2 separate regions of the Homo sapiens genome follow, and region 1 is linked to region 2. The links are contacts of gene promoters, found by promoter capture Hi-C in blood cells and fetal thymus (Javierre and others, 2016). All regions are on one chromosome and are shown on one strand. Each heading gives the region's core, a stretch centred on a gene start or on the middle of the fragment in contact. The rest is flanking DNA. Distances are from core to core; before and after follow the strand shown. Region 1 holds the start of LINC01355 (long intergenic non-protein coding RNA 1355). Region 2 holds the start of KDM1A (lysine demethylase 1A).

Region 1 (5,714 bases), core at 1,200-3,699, 260 kb after region 2:
GGGAGAGGGGGATGGGGAGTGATAGGTACAAGGTTTCTTTTTCAGCACGGTGAAAATGTCCTGAAATTAGAATGGTGATAGTGGAACAACTCTACATGCTAAAAAACAGTTAATTGGACAGTTTTAAAGAGTGAATTTTATGGTATGTGAAATATATTTCAAACTACTTTTAAAAAAAGAGAAAATAAATTCAAATTCTCCAGGTTGACCCCAGACCTACTAAATCAAAATCTGCATTTTAACAAGATCCCTGGTGATTCCCATACACACTGAAGTTTGAGAAACAGTGATTTAAAAGATACATGGTCAAAATTGTTCCTCTGGTTAATCTCATTCACAGAATAGTTAACTTGATTTCACTAGGGTGAATTTTTTCTGCCACAATTGCTTGCTATACAATTAAATGCTCATATTGATTCTACAACTTCTGGTTTTTCCCTCAAAAATTTGCAAAGTTTTAGTACTGGTTGGAACCTGCACCGAACTAGGAGCAAAGCCTTGGCACTTTTTCTTTTTTCTATTGAGACAGGGTCTCGCTTTGTCGCCCAGGCTGGAGTGCAGTGGCTTGTTCTCAGCTCACTGCAGCGTTGACCTCCCAGGATCAAGTGACCCTCCCACCTCTCAGCCTCCCAAGTAGCTGGGGTGAGAGGTGCACAACATCAGGCCCAGTTAACTTTCTGTCTTTTTAGTAGAGATGGGGTTTTGCCACGTTGACCAGGCTGGTCTCGAACTCCTTAGCTCAAGCAATCCTCCTGCCTGAGGCCTCCCAAAGTGCTAGGATTATAGGTGTGTGCCACCACATCCGGCACACATGTATTTTTTAATCCTCAACAGTACTGGGTATATAGAAGATGCTGTCACTTTAATTAAACCACCAGTTTTGAAGGGAGTGGCAATAACATACGTAAAGTGAACAAAGAAGGTAGAGAATCTAATGGGAAATAAGACAAAAAAAACTCACTCACTTCAGAAAAGTTTATTAAAGGTAAAATCAGATTTACAGAGTATAAAACAATAAGGGATAGAGGTGAAGAGGTTTCAAACAAACTATGAGTACAATAGAAAGTAAATTACCTACCTGGGGTTCTCACAGCACTTTTTCTTTACTTCTGCACAAAGCCTAATGTGTTTTTTAAAAAATCCTTGGAAAAGTCTCAGCAGTCATATATTCTCATGATTTAGCAGTTAAACAAAATGTCCACAATCCACAAAGAAAGAGGGGTGGACCTAAGTGACAGGGTACTAAACATATATACTATGATAAGCTCTGCTTCCTCTGTTCCAGTTCTTTAAATTTTGTGTCTGTGTTTTTTGGGGAAACGGTTATCATGCAAAATGACTGTCTTGGAAGCAGGAGTTGAGGAAAGGAAATTCTGGGCTCTCTAAAAAGCCTTCTTGCCTCCTTGGTGCAGTAAGCAGCATGTCTTGTAAAAAGCCTAACTTCTACCAGACTTATAACCATATTATGCAATTGGTACTTTTTTAACTAAGCAAATTTTATAAAGAATTTGAAACGTTTTGTGGGTACTTATAGCCAGGTACTGCACATAAATATCACACTCAAATTAAGAGTGCAGGCTCTGCAATCAGCCTGTATGGGTTCAAATATTGATCCCAGATCACAGTTATGCAAACTTAGGCCAAGTTACTTAATTTTTCTGCCTTCCTTTAACAATAAGCTTTAGTATTAGTACATACCTCAGAGAACAGTTATGAGAATTAAAAAAATATACGTAGTTTAAAACAGTACCTGGCACACACGAGTATTTAGTGTAGATGCACACAGAGCTTCTTTCATATAGAATGTGTCATATTCAGATTTACACACTAGTTATTAGTGTTAATGGGAAAATGGAATTAGCCTCATTTTATTAGATTTTGATTCCCTAAACTACAATTCTATCTGTATCATGTCAATAAAAATGAACTCCTTGAGCACATGAACTATATGCTAGTCTACCTTTGTATACTCCAGGATGGCGGAATGTGTCTTTTTACCACATGAGGTGATGCCATTAGTATATTCCAGGGCCTGGCACGACATCTATTACATGGGTGTGTAATAAATGTGGAATAATTTATTTCTGGTAATTTATGGATTATCTACAAAACCAATATAAGTGGATGTTATTAGAGACCTTTAAAAACCTATAATTTTACTCATATTTGCTGCAAATAAGAGTAATGCAAATGTAATGCTGAATGGAACTTTTGAGGCATTAAAGATTTTTTTCCTATATAGTGAGGAATAAAACTAAGACTTGATTGAAATAACTTTTTTAAAAAAAAGGATTTGAGCACAACAGGACAACAAAAATTGGCCCTTTGTACACTTCGGTGCAATTTCTGTCTTAGCTGCTGAGAAGCAGAGGAAAAGCACCACCTTGCTCAGAAACTACCTTCTCCACAATACTGAGAAACACACCAAACAGGGGCAAGGCTTTTTGAAGCTAGGAATAAAGAAGCTGCCCATCTTTACTAATAGGAAACAACGGGTTTTAAGGTACCCAGTAAGAGTCTTTCTTCAAAACAGACATCTCACTTACCTTTTCAGTATACTTCCTAAAAACATTAAAGACAGATGTAAGGCTTAGCTGGTAATTTCCATGAACTCAGTCTTTTCCTCTGACTGTGGTGGAGCAGACACGATTAAGCAGGTTTGGAAATGCTAGAAATGAATTCCTACTTCCCCTTGTATTCTTCAGATCTCATTTTCCCCCAAATTTCTGCAGTGGTTGGCTTCCATTTCAGCATCAGTCACGAAATCTTGAAGGTCAGACACAGTAAACAGGGAAGGACATAAAATTAAGTGATTTGGGCGTAGTTTTGAGTCTCACAACTTTAACAGGGATGAGTCATACATTAAAGTATGTCGAAATAAATTACAAGTTCTGTTCCTTAACGAAAATCAACTCTTAGTCAAGCTAAAGGTATTAGTTTGCTATAGTCTGAAATTCTGTATGTTCCTTTAATAAATGTTGAGGGGAAAAAAGATGTAATTCCCATGAAGACCAAACACAAGTTGATCAATTCAGTGTGAGTCTTTGTCCTTGATTTATTTTGCAGTACAAATGTGTAAAGGAAAAAACAAAGGGAATAAAAAATACTAGCAGATTGTTCTAAGTGATTTTCCAATTTGCCAATCAAATTTGAAGTATTTTATTTACCTACCAATTAAGTCAGAAAAAAGGAAGTGAATGTTAAATGATTATTAGTAGTATAAGCTTTAAGTTTAAAAGATAAGGGTTATTTAATTCAACTGTTTTCTTGGTTATAGGAAATTAGCATTCAAATTAACTTCATTAAGATAGGAGAAAAAATACTGAATAATTCATCTGGATGGAGTTAGCCAGGAAATGTCTTTATATTTTGCAAAATTATAAATTGAAACCAAAATCTGATATACTTCTAGGTTAGCAAACAAAATTCTTTTTATTTGCTTCCTATAAATCATTAAACAGGTTTGCTGTACTCACTCAGTGACACTTCAACTCCCTTTGAAACCCAAGTGACAGAACTAGGTCACTACTTTGGGAATGGAATTGTGAGTAGCTAGATCAGAGAAACACTGAGACTGACAAAACTTGCTTTTTTGGAAAATGGAAGAAAAAGTCATCAGTATGCCATAAGAGTTAGAGCATTCTGACCATAAAATCAGGCAGTTATCCTTGCTGACTGGTCCTGGATTCCAAATGACACATTCCTTCTCAATGTATTCAATCCATCAGCAGCTCAGAAGCAATCCACACTGGAGACCATTTAAAAACGTGCATTTTGCAATAACCATTATCTATCTTAGCAGCTAGAAAGGCAAAACAAAAGTTAGCATATCAAACTATCTTTAGGGGCTAGAGCAGAATATGAATTCATTAACGATAAATATAATTACTAGAAACAATGAAAACTGATCCAGAGGAATTTTAAGAAAACAAAAAAACCCTCAAAATGTCTATTATGCCAAGTACGGTCAAAGTATTCAAGCATCCTCCTCCCTCTCCACAACTTCTATTTTTTTCTCTCTTCTTTTTTCTTAAGGGGTGGGAGTCTTGCTATGTTGCCCAGGCTGGAGTGCAGTGGCTATTCACAAGTACAGTCATTGTGCACTACAGCCTTGAAGGCCTGGGCTCAAGCCTCAGCCTCCCAACTAGCTGAGACTAGAGGCACATACCACCGTCCCTGACTTACAACTTCTATTTTCAGGTTAGATTCCAGAAGTGTAAGAAGTATAAAATATCATGGATGATATTTAGTATTCACTAAACTGGAAGGAGAGCCAATGAATTTACTTATACTGCCCAATTAAATAATCAACATTGAACTCATCTTCAATCCCAGAAAAATCCATGAATGAAAACTGGACATAGCAACAATTGCTACTGATGCCAGACTGAAATAGCAAAGGGCAAGAGGAATTCATGCTACCTACTCTTCACTTTATAAAGAAAAATAAAGAAAAAATAAATTTAAAAAAGAAAAGGAATTTCATTTTTTCTGAGGAAAAAAACTGAGAAATTAAGTAAGACAGAGTTTGCAAATATATGAATGCTGGGCTCAATGTTTCTTAGTTTGCAGTTAAAAAGAAACATTCACAAGGAAAACAAATGTACATGTAAGTCACTTTCAAAGCAAAAAGATACTGCTTGGCCGGGGATGGTGGCTCACGCCTGTAGACTCAGCTACTTGGGAGGCTGAGGCAGGAGACTCGCTTGAACCCGGGAGGCAGAGGTTGCAGTGAGCCAAAGTCACACCACTGCACTCCAGCCTGGAGGACTGAGACTCAGTCTCAAAACAAACCAAACAAATAAAAAAACCAAAGCAAAAAGACACTGCTCAAAGCTAATCCATGGGCAGTACCTGCATTAAAACTGTTATCTGCAAATAAGGCAAAAATAAATACTGTTTGTTGCAGAGTGGAAATGCATCCTAGATTGGATTAAGCTAAGAGGCTTGAGAGGTGGCAACCACGGACTTCTGCTCTTAGACATCCTGGTTTGTAATATTTTGTTGTTCTGACAGCCAACTTGATCATTCTTCCTTGCATTATAAATTTTCACAGTAAATCTTACCTTCGGGGTCAGTGGTAACACCTATAATACTTGTTTGTATTTAAAATCCTCTAATATCCAATACATTTAATCACAGCCTCACTGACATCTCAATTGCCCTTGAGACTCAAAACAGAGGGGGAACTTCTGAGAAATGTAATTATTATACCTCTGTGCTTAGGTTGAAGACAACTTCATGATCTGGAGAATTAATTACTTTTTGTTTCTCTTCATGCCTGGTTTATAAGAAACTGAACATTGGACATGAGAAAAAGTAGAGGTCCTATCACTTTACAGGTGTTTTTATCATTCATTTGAAGTCTATTCCAAAGACATCAGTTATCCCACATATAAAGGTGCATATAAACTCTCACTTCAAAGTTAAACTACTCTGAGCTATTCATATTTGCATTCTTCTCTAATGGTGTAAATAATCAAGAACCAGAGAAGTTACGCCTTCATCGTAACAGCCATATTTCTCTGGCCTATATAGCAAATCCAGTTACATTTTAAAGTGTGTGCGTGGTTCTTTAAAACATTAATTTCAAACACATGAATAACATTATTGTTTTATTTAACCCAATATTCAGTGATCCCTGACTGGGTTGGGCTCAGTAACATGTCTTTCAAAAACAAAAAAAATACTAGACTCATATATATTTTTTGAGT
Region 2 (5,746 bases), core at 1,788-4,287:
ACAAACCTGTATGGCATGTTACTGTACTGAATACTGTAGCAATTCTGTCTAAACATAGAAAAGGTAGAAAAGGTATGGTAAAAATGTGTTATATAATTTTATGGGAACACTATCTCATATGCAGTCTGTTGTTGATGGAAACATTGTTATGCGGTGTATGATTGTATCAAATTGGTTACCACTTGTTGGGGCTTTTTAAAATTTTTATTGTTTTAGAGACAGGGTCTTGCTCTGTTGCCCAGGCTGGAGTGCAGTGGCGTGACCATAGCTCACTGTAGCCTTAAACTCCTGGGCTCAAGCAATCCTTCCACCTCGGCTTCCCAAAATGCTGGCATTACAGATGCAAGTCACTGTGCCTGGCCTTTGTTGGGTTTTTAGGTTAGTTCTCCTTTATCGTCATTACGTATAACCTGAGATACACAGTGTTGAAGTTAAATCTGTACACATACTGAATCTTTCCCTAGAATGCTTTCCTGAAAGTAGAATTACTTGGTCAAAGGGTATGTATGTTTTTAACATCTAATTTCAAGTTTTATCAAACTATTAAATGTGCAAACAAGTCAGATAGAACTACAGGATTTAAAACAAGCTCCAATCCACTGCCTCACCTCTTTCCACCGTCAAGTTCCAAGCCTTAGAGACAACCAATTCCAACTTTTTTAGCTGTTTCTTCTGTATTTACCTTGATATTTCTAAATAGTATGCTTATATTATTTTTTGATTTCTCAATTTTGACATTATGTATTTTATATATATATATATATATATATATATATATATATATATATATATATATATATATATATATACTTTTTTTGAGACGGAGTCTCGCTCTGTCGCCCAGGCTGGAGTGCAGCGGCGCGATCTCGGCTCACTGCTACCTCCGCCTCCTGGGTTCACGCCATTCTCCTGCCTCGGCCTCCGAGTAGCTGGGACTACAGGCGCCCGCCACCATGCCCGGCCAGTTTTTTTGTATTTTTAGTAGAGACGGGGTTTCACCGTGTTAGCCACGACGGTCTTGATCTCCTGACCTCGTGATCTGCCCGCCTCGGCCTCCCAAAGTGCTGGGATTACAGGCATGAGCCACCGCGCCTGGCCAACATTATGTATTATATTTTTATGGTGAAAAATAATTTAGCTCCCAAGCAGCACCTCCCCCAACAACCTCCCTACTTCCCTAAATCCTTAAAACCTTCTCATCTTTCTCCCCACAAACTTTCTTTTTTCTCCATTCTCTTAATGTAATTCTATCACTTTGGTTAAAACAATATTCACTGCTCGGCGGGGCGCGGTGGCTCACACCTGTAATCCCTGCACTTTGGGAGGCCGAGGTGGGAGGATCACTTGAGGTCAGGAGTTGGAGACAAGCCTAGCCAACATGGCGAAACCCTGTTTCTACTAAAAATACAAAAATTAGCCAGGCATGGTGGCACACGCCTGTAATCCCAGCTACTGGGGAGGCTGAGGCAGGAGAATCGCTTGAACTTGGGAGGCAGAGGTTGCATTGAGTCAAGATTGCACCCCTGCACTCCAGCCTGGGCAACAGAGCAAGACTCTGTCTCAAAAAAAAAAAGAAGAAACAAACAAACAAAAGAACAGAAAAAATAAATAAAACAATATTCACTGCTTACGTTTTTATGGTCATGTTAATACAGTTCACAGCTGAGCCATATGTTGTACTATGATTATATTTTCTTTCTTTTTCTTTTCTCTTTTTTTTTAGAAACGCAGTTTCACTATGTTGCTCAGGCTGGACTTGAATGAACTCCTAGGCTCAAGTGATTCTCCCACCTCAGTCTCTCGAGCAGCTGGTACTACAAGTGCGTGCCACGCCACTCGGATACATTTTCTTTCTTGCATAGCTTTTACTTTTTTTCCTTTCTACATTTGATTGCCTTTTTGTCTGTTTGCTTAGTTTTTTACAAAAAACAACTTTACTGAAGTACTACAGTTACATAAAACATACCTGTTTTACATGGATAGTTCATAGAGTTTTGACAAATATATACACCTATGTAACCATCACCCTAATCAAGATATAAAACATTTCCATCACCCCCAGCAAGTTCTTTCTTGTTCTTTTGCAGTCAACCCCCGACCCCCATCTCAGGCAAGGGCTGATTGGAGCCTATTACTGGAGATTAGTTTTACCAGTTCTTGAACTTCATGTAAATGGAATAATTTTTTGACAATTTCACTTCGAAGAGACAGACTATTAAAAAGACAATTGTTTGTGTAATAAGTACACGCATGCTAAAAGTACACGACCTGTTCCAGTTTTGGGTTAGCAAGGGATTCCTCGAAAAATTAAAAGAATAAACCGCTACTATCATTATTAGAAAGAATTAACCTGGAGTAGAAAGAGGTGTTATGTGGATGGGGATGGGGGACATGAAGGATGGGGGACATGGGGGATGGGGGACATGGGGGATGGGAGAAGCGCAAGACATGGAGTGCGAATGAGGTTGGGGTCCAGCCAGAAGGAAAAGCATGAACAAAGGCTTGGAGACAAGAGCAATTCCGTCTGGACTCAAACCTGGATTTCGTAACTTGTCTCCATTTTACTACCATCGAAACTGCTGTGCTCTCCAAGTTTTTTGCCCAGTCCAAGCAGGGCAATTATGAATAAGTAAGACGCTCTACCAACATATTTCAGTGTTTTCCCCCATTAGACTGTAAGTTCTTTGAAAGCTAGAACTTCATAATGTAACCCTTGTTACGTAGTAGGCAAGCATTAATAAATACTGGTTGAATTAACGAATAATTGGGTGAGTGAATGAACGAACGCACGCATGCAAACCCGAAAGTCCCTGGAGGAAATGGTCACCTTCGGAGGTTTAGTCTGGCCCAGAAGCCCTAAGACCACGGACTGTGCCAGGTCCCACTCCAAACGCCGGGGAGACGCTCTAGGCAAGCTACACGTTCTTTGCTGCGGTGCCACTCTAGCCGCGAGAACGCCGCTCTATGGCTGCGGGGGAGGGGCGGGGCTCGTGGGTGTCTCCGACCCTTTTTGTCCCGGCGCGGCGGGAGCGCGCTTGGCGCGTGCGTACGCGACGGCGGTTGGCGGCGCGCGGGCAGCGTGAAGCGAGGCGAGGCAAGGCTTTTCGGACCCACGGAGCGACAGAGCGAGCGGCCCCTACGGCCGTCGGCGGCCCGGCGGCCCGAGATGTTATCTGGGAAGAAGGCGGCAGCCGCGGCGGCGGCGGCTGCAGCGGCAGCAACCGGGACGGAGGCTGGCCCTGGGACAGCAGGCGGCTCCGAGAACGGGTCTGAGGTGGCCGCGCAGCCCGCGGGCCTGTCGGGCCCAGCCGAGGTCGGGCCGGGGGCGGTGGGGGAGCGCACACCCCGCAAGAAAGAGCCTCCGCGGGCCTCGCCCCCCGGGGGCCTGGCGGAACCGCCGGGGTCCGCAGGGCCTCAGGCCGGCCCTACTGTCGTGCCTGGGTCTGCGACCCCCATGGAAACTGGAATAGCAGAGACTCCGGAGGGGCGTCGGACCAGCCGGCGCAAGCGGGCGAAGGTAAGGCTCGACCCTTCCCTCAAACGACACCGCCTGGTGCCGAGCTTCCCCGAGGCTTCTCCGCCCTCCCCCGCCGCCGCCGGGTCTTGGGCCCTGCGACCACTCAGACCTCCCCTTGTATCGCTGCGCACGCCACGTCCCCTCTAGCTGGACGGGTGGGGTGAGAAAGGAAAAGTCTTTGCCGGTGTTGACTGCGGTCTTTGTGCTGGGTCCCGAGCGACGTGGGAAGGGGCATCGATGATTGCTGGGAGGGGTATTTTATTCCTTAGGTCTTTCTTGCACACCTTTTCATTTTCTTGACTGGAAAATGGCTCCCTGACGTGGGGTTACGGTTGGCGTTCTTGGAGACCTCACTTGTTTGTTCACAGATAGGTCTGGAAGCTGTTGGGCGATATTGATGGCGTTTCAGCTGGGTGCACGAGGGGGCTGTAGGTTGATGCTGAAGAAATCGCCTTAGCCGGGGAGATGAAAAGAAAGGGTCGTTTTTGCTTTTGTTTTTGTTTGAGCAAAACCCTGCTGTGTGGTAGGAGTTCTAGTCTTTTTTTTTTTCTTTTTTAAAATCCTCTCAGCGATCTTTTGGCGCAGAATTTTGCAGATGAGGAAGCTGCTGATTGAGAGAGCAAATAATAGTCAAAATGCAAATATATGGGAAGAAAAGATTTGACTCCAAACAGTATATACAGACAGTGACTGCCTCAAATGTCTGTGTCCTAGATGCTATATTCAGCGTGTCACCAACATTACTTTTTTTTGTTGTTGTTAAATATCAACGGGCAGGTATTGCTAGCCCTATTTTAGGAATGAGTAAACTGAGGCACACAATTTAAGCAACTTGCCTAAAGTCACAAAGCTAAATAAGTGATGGAAGTGGAATGTAATTCCCACATTCATGTTGTTACAGGGTATCATCAGCCCTTGAAACAAAGGACCACATGGGACACTGTGTGCAGGGCACTGGGGCAGTATTAGGGCGCAGACTTTAGACTTGGGCCTTTTCTGGAGATTTAATGGTCGGTCTAGTTGGAAAAAACAACCTGGATATATATGTGCGTGTAGTCAACATTTAAATAAAAATTTGCAGATTATATAATTTATGCCTGAAAAAATTGTCTACATAATTTTTAAGTGGGAATACCAAGTCAGTGTGTATGGGGAGCTTCTTGAGATGAGTATTACCCAGTCTGAGAGCTCTCATATTTATCTGCCTACTTGAGCCAACTCTCTAAAGTATAACCAGTGCTGGATGAAAGACCGTTTTGGAGGCAAGACTTTCTGGAGCTTTTACCAAAGCATGGGTTAGAAAAGCACAGAGGTTGGTGACACCAGCCCTCAGAAATGAAATAAAGGGCAGAAGTCAAGAGTGTTATTTTACGATTTCAATAGACAGGTGGCCAGAAGCCACGTATAAGATGTTTTTAAAAACAGATTTATTGGCTGGGCACAGTGGCTCACTCCTGTAATCCCTGCACTTTGGGAGGCCAAGGCGGGTGGATCACCTGTGGTCAGGAGTTCGAGACCAGCCTGGCCAACATGATGAAACCCCCGTCTCTACTAAAAATACAAAAAATTAGCCGGGCGTGGTGGCGGGCGCCTGTAATCCCAGCTACTCCGGAGGCTGAGTTAGGGAGAATTGCTTGAACCCGGGAGGCAGAGGTTGCAGTGAGCCCAGATCGTGCCACTGCACTTCAGCCTGGGCAACAAGAGCGAAACTGTCTAAAAGCAAACAAAAAAACAGGCTTATTGGGATAATGCATGTATAATAATATTCACCATTTTAAAATGTATGATTCAGTGGTTTTTAGCATATTTACAAGATTGTACAGCCAACACCACAATTGATTTTAGAACCTTTTCATCATCCCCAAAGACATCTGTATCATTAGCAGTCACTCCCCAGTCCTCCCTACCCCCAGTCCCTGGCAACCACTAATCTACTCTTTGTCTATGGATTTGTCTATTCTGAACATTTTATATAAAATCTTATGTAGCCTTTTGTATTTGGCTTTAGCATGTTTTCAGGGTTCATTCACGTTGTAGTGCTTTCATTCAGTACTTGATAACTCTTTATGGCTGAATAATATTCCATTGTATGGATATACCAAATTTGGTTTACCCATTCATCATTTGACGCACATTGGGGTTTGTTTCCAAGTCTTGGCTATTTTACATAATGCTGCTGTGAACATTAATGTACAGTTTATTTTGTGAATATGTTTTCAGTTCTCTTTG

Evidence for each region. The method cuts DNA at HindIII sites, captures the fragments that hold promoters and counts their contacts. A CHiCAGO score of 5 or more calls a contact.
Region 1: a fragment that was not itself captured here is called in contact with the fragment with the promoter of KDM1A in region 2 in 2 of 17 cell types (M2 macrophages and M1 macrophages); the score reaches 5.7 in M2 macrophages.

The regions. Positions count from the first base shown.
Region 1 is chr1:23,280,348-23,286,061 of GRCh38, forward strand. LINC01355 (long intergenic non-protein coding RNA 1355) reads right to left here and starts at 5,171. Exons shown (of 2, transcript NR_110616.1): 1 at 4,763-5,171; 2 at 962-4,063. The HindIII fragment of the contact is 1,545 bases long and covers 1,678-3,222 here.
Region 2 is chr1:23,016,431-23,022,176 of GRCh38, forward strand. It overlaps KDM1A (lysine demethylase 1A), which reads left to right and starts at 3,038. Exons shown (of 21, transcript NM_001009999.3): 1 at 3,038-3,517. The coding sequence starts at 3,167. RefSeq lists enhancers at 2,842-3,529, 3,530-4,215 and a silencer at 3,285-3,354. The HindIII fragment of the contact is 11,360 bases long and covers 1-5,746 here.